Regions from separate parts of the Homo sapiens genome. Here region 2 is linked to region 1. Evidence: promoter capture Hi-C in 16 types of primary human blood cells and fetal thymus (Javierre and others, 2016). All regions are on one chromosome and are shown on one strand. The core of a region is centred on a gene start or on the middle of the fragment in contact, and the rest is flanking DNA. Distances in the headings are between cores, read along the strand shown.

The links. The method cuts DNA at HindIII sites, captures the fragments that hold promoters and counts their contacts. A CHiCAGO score of 5 or more calls a contact.
Region 2: a contact is called between a fragment that was not itself captured here and the fragment with the promoter of SNX6 in region 1, in 1 of 17 cell types (total B cells). The highest score is 6.0, in total B cells.

The regions. Positions count from the first base shown.
Region 1 is chr14:34,627,383-34,632,162 of GRCh38, reverse strand. It overlaps SNX6 (sorting nexin 6), which reads left to right and starts at 2,015. Exons shown (of 14, transcript NM_152233.4): 1 at 2,015-2,052; 2 at 2,209-2,256. The coding sequence starts at 2,047. RefSeq lists an enhancer at 1,692-1,741 and a silencer at 1,912-2,261. The HindIII fragment of the contact is 3,459 bases long and covers 1,569-4,780 here.
Region 2 is chr14:34,878,715-34,883,494 of GRCh38, reverse strand. No RefSeq gene overlaps it. Among named protein-coding and RNA genes, the nearest start is that of BAZ1A, 5.7 kb to the right of the region's middle. The HindIII fragment of the contact is 767 bases long and covers 2,268-3,034 here.

The DNA of each region.
Region 1 (4,780 bases), core at 766-3,265:
CAGGCTGGAGTGTGGTGGCATGATCTTGGCTCACTGCAACCTCTGCCTCCCGAGTTCAAGCAATTCTCCTGCCTTGGCCTCCCGAGTAGCTGGGATTACAGGTGCGCACCACCTCACCCAGCTAATTTTTGTATTTTTAGTAGAGATGAGGTTTCACCATGTTGGCCAGGCTCGTCTTGAACTCCTGACCTCAGATGATCTGCCCCCCTTGGCCTCCCAAAGTGCTGGGATTACAGGTGTGAGCCACTGCGTCCGGCCAAAATATCAGTTAAGTTTAATATTGTTTTGAGAGCTTCACTTCAATAAAATAGGATGGAGGGCCTGGCAGAGTAGAGAGGGATTCAAATGTAGAAGGCTTGAAATCGTAGGCTGAGGAATTGAATCGTTATGTAATGGGGGCTTGTAAAGATTACTGAACAGGGTAGTAGCATAATCATCAATATCTGTGTTTTAGGAGGAAAACTGGCAGCAGTGTGTAAAATAGGATAAAGTGATGGAAAATAGTGGAGTCAGGAGAGTATTGCAAAGGTGTAGACGAGAGTTGATGGTAATTGCTGTGAGAACTGGAAAAATTGGACTAATTAAAGAGGTATGGGCTGGGCGCAGTGGCTCACACCTGTAATCCCAGCACTTTGGGAGGTCGAGGCGGGCGGATCATGAGGTCAGGAGATCAAGACCTTCCTGGCTAACATGGTGAAATCCTGTCCTACTAAAAATACAAAAAAATTAGCCGGGTGTGGTGGCACACACCTGTAGTCCCAGCTACTCGGGAGGCTGAGGCAGGAGAATGGCGTGAACCCTGGAGGTGGAGCTTACAGTGAGCCGAGATCGCACCACTGCACTCCAGCCTGGGCGACAGAGCGAGACTCTGTCTCAAAAAAAAAAAAAAAAGAGGTATGAAGGACAATCAATTGTAGAAGCCATAGGATTTGGTTGGATATGAGGAGTAAGGGAGATAAGGATTTATTTCTTTCTTTTTTTGAGACAGAGTCTTGCTCTGTTGCCCAGGCTGGAGTGCAGTGGTGCAATCTCGGCTCACTGCAACCTCTGCCTTCCAGGTTCAAGCGATTCTTTTGCTTCAGCCTCCCAAGTAGCTGAGATTACAGGCACGCGCCACCACGCCCGGCTAATTTTTGTATTTTTAGTAGAGACGGGGTTTCACCATGTTAGCCAGGATGGTCTCAAACTCCTGACCTCAGGTGATCCGCCCGCCTTGGCCTCCCAAAGTGCTGGAATTAGAGACGTGAGCCACAGCGCCCGGCCCCTAGAGTACGGATTTCAATGGGTTAAGGGTTTCTGGTCTGAACATCTGAAGATGCCTTTCCTTAACTGAATGCAAGCTCAGGAACGTGTAGATTCTAGGATTAAGTATGATTTTCTCCCGTTATTTGAAATGCCTGTGGATCCCGTGTGATGCTAACCACCTGGACAGTTAGAGTAGGTGTGGGGAAATTTCTTCTAACAAAGGAAAGGAATATTTTTGTAATGAAAACAGCTCATTTTTATAGTTCGCAACCATTAGTGCCCCAAACTCTGAGGTAGTTATTACCTCGCCAGCGGTAAAAGCTTGATTATAGTCCCTGATTACCGACTGTGTGAAGGTCCTTGTTTCCAGCAACTTCCATAGGCAAAATGATATTAATTGTGATTAATTATCGTGTGGCATAATACAAAGACCAGATGATGTATTATGGCTTCCGGAGGGCGCCTGCATCGTTTTTCGCTGGAGCCCTCGGGGCAGGGGAACTGGAGAGCTCCCTGGGTGGCCTTTGGCCCTTCCCTGGTCAGAGCCCGCCAGCTGCGAGGTGCCCCCAGCCATGAGGTCTGGGTCTTCAGGCTCTCCCGACTTCGGTGCCTTGACCTTGGGCAGAAGGCCCTGTTAACCTTCCTCGCTCACGGACTCGAGCGACCAGCGCCGGGGACGGGGCGGGCCGTCCTTAGGCCCCGCCCCTTCGCCTCCGCCCCGCCCCGCCCCGCTCCTGGCCGCCGGCTCCCTCCGGCAGCAGGGAGATGCGCGCCTGCGCCGGCCCTCGCCTCGGAGCAGCCATGATGGTGGGTGTTCTCCGCGGCGCCGAGTCCCGGGAGCGCGGTGGGGGCAGCGGGCGCGGGGCGGGCGCGGGGACCGCGCCAGCCTGTCACTAATGTCTCCCTTTGTGTCTCCCCCATCTCATCCTTTTCCCCGGCGCGCCGTGCCCGCCGACCCCACAGGAAGGCCTGGACGACGGCCCGGACTTCCTCTCAGAAGAGGACCGCGGAGTAAGTTCTGCCTTCCTTTCGCTCGCGGGACCCTGGACCCTCCTTCCCCATCCTGGGTCCCCGGGTGTGGTACGGGGATGGGTCCCCAGCCGCGCGGCACTCCCTCCCCGTAGTCCTCCTTTCGGTTTCCTCGCTGCACCGCGCCCCACCCTCCCGCAGCCCTTCCTCCCTAGGGGCCGCTCGGCTCCGATTCCCGGGGACCCGCGGCCGCTTTCTTGTCCCCCGCCGCTGTTCGGGCCTTCTGGTGGACCTCCACTCCCACGCGGGGCGGGGTGCAGGTGGCGAAGTGGAAATGGAGGCGGGAGATGGAACGCCCCCACCCTCCCTCGACACTTTGGGGCCATGAAAACCCATTCTCGGACCTTCCCAGCGGCACCCTCAATTTTCACCCGGTGTGGACATCTCGAACTTGCTCCCGCCCACCCTTCTGTCTCTCTCAAATAGTACAGGTGTAGTCTACATTACCATTTTGCAAGGATTTTTATAGTAGCCGAATCAACTCCTGTCCAGTGCCCTACTAGATTATGCAAAGTGCAGGTAGCCCATGGTATCTTTACTTTTTCTAATATCCAACAAATCCTGTCTTTGGCAGGATTTCCTTGGTGTTTTATTCCCCCTTAGCTTCTTTGAGGTATATTGACAAATACTGTTGATAATTGTATATACTTAAGGTATACATTATATTTTAATACACGAATACATTGTGAAATGAGTACCAAAATCAACCTGACATATCCATCACCTCACCTAGTTACCATTTTTTTTTGTGTGAGAACATTTGAGATCTAAGCAAATTTCAAGTATGTACCCTTTGACCAACATCGACGCTCCACCCACTCACCCCCCACATACACACTCCGCCAGGCCTTTGATAACCTCCATTCTGCCCTTGGTGTTCTGAGGTTAGTTGCATTCTACTTCAGAAAGAGCCTTCCGGGCTCTGATTCCTCCCTCCCACCCCACTCTCCACCCCCTTTTTCCTTGGCTGAAGGGTGGTAATCTTTATAGTCCCTTGTACAAGTGAGCACTTGGAAAATGTTGATATATGATAATTACCATTCAGCAAGGTTCCATGGTTCCTTCACATTTCACAGCCTGCACTTCAGTTTTCCCTTTTGCTTTTTCTTATCCGTTTTAATGTGAGAGAGACATCTGTTAGTGCATATTTGGTAGGTGATAAAATATTGTGGGATGTTATTGCTGTTTGTAATAACAGATGAGGTAGTTAGTATGAACTGATGACTTTTATAAAACTTTTATTTATTTATTTGGTTTTATGAGACAGTATCTCCCTTTGTTGCCCAGGCTGGAGTGCAGTGGCATGGTTATAGCTCACTGCAGCCTTGACCTCCTGGGCTTAAGTGATCCTCCCACCTCAGCCTCCCAAGTAGCTGGGACTACTGGCACGGGCCACCATGCCTAGCTGGGTTTTTGTTTGTTGGCTTTTTGAGACGGAGTCTTGCTCTGTCACCCAGACTGGAGTGCAGTAGCGCTATCTTGGCTCACTGCAAGCTCCGCCTCCCGGGTTCACGCCATTCTCCTGCCTCAGCCTCCCGAGTAGCTGGGACTACAGGCGCCCGCCACCACGCCCGGCTAATTTTTTGTATTTTTAGTAGAGACGGGGTTTCATCATGTTAGCCAGGATGGTCTCGATTTCCAGACCTCGTGATCTACCCACCCCGGCCTCCCAAAGTGCTGGGATTATAGGCGTGAGCCACCACGCCCGGCCTGTTTGTTTTTATAGAGACAGGGTCTCACCATGTTGCCCAGGCCAGTGTCAAACTCCTGGGCCTAAGTGATCCTCCTGCGATTATAGGCGTGAGTCACTGTGCCCAGCCGAGCTTTTAAATAGTAAGAAAGATGGAGAAGGTGCTGCATACTTTTATAAATTAATTTCTCAGTGTAAACAAAGGCATTATTTAGAATTTCAGGTTAGAGCAAAAGCATCATATAGAATTACTAGTTGTTGGTAAGATTTTTAGTTTCGGCCAGGCACAATGGCTCACACCTTTAATCCCAGCATTTTGGGAGGCCGAGGCAAGAGGATTGTTTAAGGCAGGAATTCAAGATCAGCCTGGGCAACATAGCAAGACCTCATCTGTACCTAAAAATTTTAAGACCAGGCACGGTGGCTCACGCCTGTAATCCCAGCACTTTGGGAGGCCGAAGTGAGTGGATCACCTGAGGTCAGGAGTTCGAGACCAGCCTGACCAACATGGTGAAACCCTGTCTCTACTAAAAATACAAAAATTAGCTGGGCATGGTGGCGCATGCCTGTAATTCCAGTTACTTCAGAGGCTGAGGCAGGAGAATCACTGGATTCATTCACTGGAACCTGGGAGGTGGAGGTTGCAGTGAGCTGAGATTGCACCATTGCACTCCAGCCTGGGCAACAAGAGCAAAACTCCATCTCAAAAAAAGAAAAAAAAGAAAAAACAATTTTTTTTTTTTTTGAAACGGAGTCTCGCTCTTTCGCCCAGGCCGAAGGCCCGACTGCAGTGGTGCTATCTTGGCTCACTGCAAG
Region 2 (4,780 bases), core at 1,402-3,901, 250 kb before region 1:
TATTGAACTTCTATCTTGGGAAAGACACTATGGTAGGCCCTGTAAAATATTTAACACAGACATTTTTTACTTTCTATTTGCAGTTCTAAACTTTATATTTCTGATTGTGAAGTGAAAGATTTTATTACATCAGCTATCTCTCCTGACTTGCCTCTTTACCTTCTAACCTCTGTATCTTTATTTCAACAGTGAAAGGTTTCCCTTTCTTTCTTTTTTTTTTTTTTTTGAGACAAAGTCTCGCTCTGTCGCCTAGACTGGAGTGCAGTGGTGCAATCTCGGCTAATATGTATTTTTAGTAGAGAGGGGGTTTCACTATGTTGGTCAGGCTGGTCTCAAACTCCTGACCTCGTGATCCACCCGCCTCGGCCTCCCAAAGTGCTAGGATTGCAGGTGTGAGCCACCATGCCCAGCTAAAAAGTTTCCCTTTCATCCTTGTCTCCTAGCCACCCCTTTCTCAGAGGCAACCAGTGTGTTATTTTCTTACATATCCTTCCAGATGTATTTTATGTATCAGGCAAATATATATTATAATATTTTTTAAACAACATACACATTTTTCTGTACCTTGTATGTGTTTTTATTTTACTTCTTTCTTTTTCTTTTCTTTTTTTTTTTTTTTGAGACGGAATCTTGCTCTGTCGCCCAGGCTGGAGTGTAGTGGTGCGATCTCGGCTCACCGCAACCTCCACCTCCCAGGGTCAAGTGATTCTCCTGCCTCAGCCTCCTGAGTAGCTGGGACTACAGGCGTGTGCCACCATGCCCAGCTCATTTTTGTATTTTTAGTAGAGACAGGGTTTTGCCATTCTGGCCAGGCTGGTCTCAAACTCCTGACCTTGTGATCCACCTGCCTTGGCCTCCCAAAGTGCTGGGATTACAGGTGTGAGCCACCATACCCGGCCTCACAGTGTAGTTTTAATTTATACTTGTCTTGTTAGTGAATATCTTTTATTTTTATTTTTAAGGCAGGGTCTCATTCTGTCTCTCAGGCCGGAGTGCAGTGGTGCAATCTCAGCTCACTGCAACCTCCACCTCCCAGTTTCAAGCGATTTTCCACCCTCAACCTCCCAAGTGCTGGTACTACAGGCCTACGCCACCACGCCTGGCTAATTTTTGTATTTTTAGTAGAGACGGGGTTTCGACACATTGGCCAGGCTGGTCTCAAACTCCTGACCTCAAGTGATCTCTCCACCTCAGCCTCCCAAAGTGTTTTTTATGTTTGAAAAGCCATTTGTGCTTCCTTTTCTGTTTATGTTGGGTTATTGTGATTTATTATTATTATTTATGGGAGCTCTTTATATATTAGGGAAATTAGCCCTTTGTCAGCGAGTTGCAAATATTTTTTTCCCCAATTTGCTATTGTCTTTCAACTTTGTGGTAGCTTTTTTTCGTTGTTTTTGTTGTTGTTGTTTTTTGAGATGGAGTCTTGCTCTGTTGCCCAGGCTGGAGTGCAGTGACACGATCTCGGCTCACTACAACCTCTGCCTCCCAGGTTTAAGCGATTCTCATGCCTCAGTCTCCCTGAGTAATTGGGATTACAGGAGCCCACCACCAAGCCTGGCTAATTTTTGTATTTTTAGTAGAGACAGGTTTTTGCCATGCTGGCTAGGCTGATTTTGAACTCCTGACCTCAGGTGATCCACCTGCCTCGGCCTCCCAAAGTGCTGGGATTACAGGTGTGAGCCACTGTGCCTGGCCTGTGTTAACTTTTATATGCGGAACTTTATTTATTATTTTATTTTTGAGACAGGGTCTCACTCTGTTGCCCAGGCTGGAGTGCAGTGGTGAGATCTTGGCTCACTGCAGCCTCAACCTCCTGGGCCCAAATGATCCTCCCACCTCAGACTCCTGAGTAGCTGGGACCACAGGCGTGTGCCACCATACCTGGCTAATTTTTGTATTTCAGTAGAGATGGGATTTCACCATGTTGCCCAGGCTGTTCTTGAACTCCTGTGCTCAAGTGATCCACCTGCCTCGGCCTCCCAAAATACTGGGATTATAGGCATGAGTCACTGTGCCCAGCCTAAATTTTTATTTTGTAGAATTATATATTGTGTATTTTCTCTTATAAGTAGGCTTTCTTTCTTTTGAGATAATTTTTAAAAAAATCTTACATGGTTTTCGTTAGTACTTTTATGATTAACAAACCTTCTTAATCATTACAAGTTCTAAATTGTTCAGTGGATAGTACTGAGTTCCCTGTTTCAGTTTATATCTGAGCTAGATTAGCAAGTCAGTCCTATGGAAATATAGAATAGTAGTAAGAAGCTTGGATTCTGGAGTTGATAAGATTGGAATTTAGGCCTTCCTGTTTCTGAACTGTATGGTTTGGGGCATGCTACTTAATTAACCTCTCAGAGCCTCACTGGCTTCATCTGTAAAATGGTGATAAGTACTTCTTAGTTTGAGGTGAAAATTGCATGAGATGAGATGATTCCCTTAAAGCCCTTAGCACAATCCTTGACAAGTTGGAAACAGTCATTAAATGTAAAGTATTACTGTGATAAAGATGATGACCATAGACTACTCTCTCAACTTTAACTACATCCCATAATTCATGACTCTAATCGGAAGGGGTTGAATAAAAAGATGTATTCCCAATTTGCCCACATTACCACTTCAACATCAACAGTCCGAGCACAGTAATTCTCAGCCTTGGCAGTCCATTAAATTACCTGAGTAGATTTTTAAACTCCCAATGCCTGGGTCTCTTTCCCAGCGACCTGGGGCCTGGATATGGCCCAAGCACCAGTATTTTTCAAAAACCCTTCAGGTGTTTCCAATGGGCAGCCAAGTTCTAGAACCACTATTCTAACACTAGGCCACTGGTTTCAGATATAAAGGAAAACACATTGCTTCTAAATAACAGTACTGTATATAGAAATCTTTTATGGGTAAAATGCCATGAATTCATTAGAAAGACATTATAAAGAACATAGAAGACTTGAGACAAATGTTAGAGATATGTGAGAAAAGGAATTACAAAACTAAAGATGTTCCTTGTATATATTTGTAAGGCATCTTTCTCAGAAAAGCTTGGGCAGCTATACTGTAAGTACTTTTATAATATTGCTGAGAGGTAAGGGAAATGAAATTTTCTATCTGTTAGATGTGTTAATGGAAGCATGGAGATAGGTCTCATGTCAGCTGTCCAATTAGAGAAATTTATGATTTTTTTTTTTTTTTTTTTTGAGACGGAGTCTCACTGTGTCCCCAGGCTGGAGTGCAACGGCATGATCTCAGCTCATTGCAACCTTCACCTTCCAGGTTCATACGATTCTCCTGCCTCAGCTTCCCGAGTAGCTGGGATTACAGGCGCACACCACCACGCCCAGCCAATTTTTGTACTTTTAGTAGAGACGGGGTTTCACCACGTTGGCCAGGCTTGTCTTGAACTCCTGACCTCAGGTGATCTGCCCGCCCCAGCCTCCCAAAGTGCTGGGATTACAGACATGAGCAGCCTCACCCGGCCTATGACTTTTATTACCCCATTGCTTTCCTGGATGATTCTCAAAAATAATTATTTCTTTACTTTTTATTTTTTAATGTTAAGGACACAGCTGCAACAAAAATAATTATTTCTAATCATCAGTAATATAGCTTATCCCTATATGAGCACTTTAGGAAGGATGTATAATGGTATTTTAGCTCATTAATGCTGTGGGAGTAGGGTATATAAGAAAATTAGCTATTATTGAATCCAAAGAAAGAGCAGTGTGGTCTAAAGACACTGACTGGACAAGGAGACTCAGGAGGCCTGGATTCTGGTTCCTCAGCTTCAATTTCCTCAGGTGCAAAATGGAAGAATTAACAGAGGTCCCAAAGGTTTCTTTCAGGTGTAAGTGATTACTGTCTCACTAAACCACCTAAGTATAAAGCCTTTCTTAAGTTAATCAGTCAATATTAATAGAAGCTGCAGGAAAATTGTTCTAGTTCAAACTTTTTTCTTTCTTTCTTTCTTTTTTTTTTTGAGACAGAGTCTCACTCTGTCGCCCAGGCTGGGGTGCAGTGGCTGGATATTGGCTCACTGCAAGCTCCGCCTCCTGGGTTCACGCCATTCTCCTGCCTCAGCCTCCCAAGTAGCTGGGACTACAGGCGCCCGCCACCATGCCTGGCTAATTTTTTGTATTTTTATTAGAGACGGGGTTTCACCATGTTAGCCAGGATGGTCTCGAACTCCTGACCTCGTGATCCACCCGCCTCGGCCTCCCAAAGTGCTGGGATTACAGGTATGAACCACCACGCCTGGCCTCAAACTTTAAAAATTTATATTCCGGGCCAGGTGCGGTGGCTCATGCCTGTAATCCCAGCACTTTGGGAGGCCAAGGCGAGTGGATCACCTGAAGTCAGGAGTTCGAGACCAGCCTGGCCAACATGGGGAAACCCCGTCTCTACCTAAAATACAAAAATTAGCTGGGTATGGTGGCAGGCACCTGTAATCCCGGCTACTCGGGAGGCTGAGGCAGGAGAATCACTTGAACGCAGGAGGCAGAGGTTGCATCAGGAGGCAGAGGTTGCATGAGCTGAGATCGTGCCACTGCACCCCAGCCTGGGCAACAGGGTAAGAGACTGTCTCAAAAATAAATAAATAATAAAACTTAAAATTCCAGTCTTTTTTTTTTCTTTGATGGAATTTTGCTCTTGTTGCTCAAACCGGAGTGCAATGGCATGATCTTGGCTCACTGCAACCTCTGCCTCCTGGGTTCAAGTGATTCTCCTGCCTCAGCCTCCCAAGTAGCTGGAATTACAGGCGTGTGCCACCATGCCCAGCTAATTTTGTATT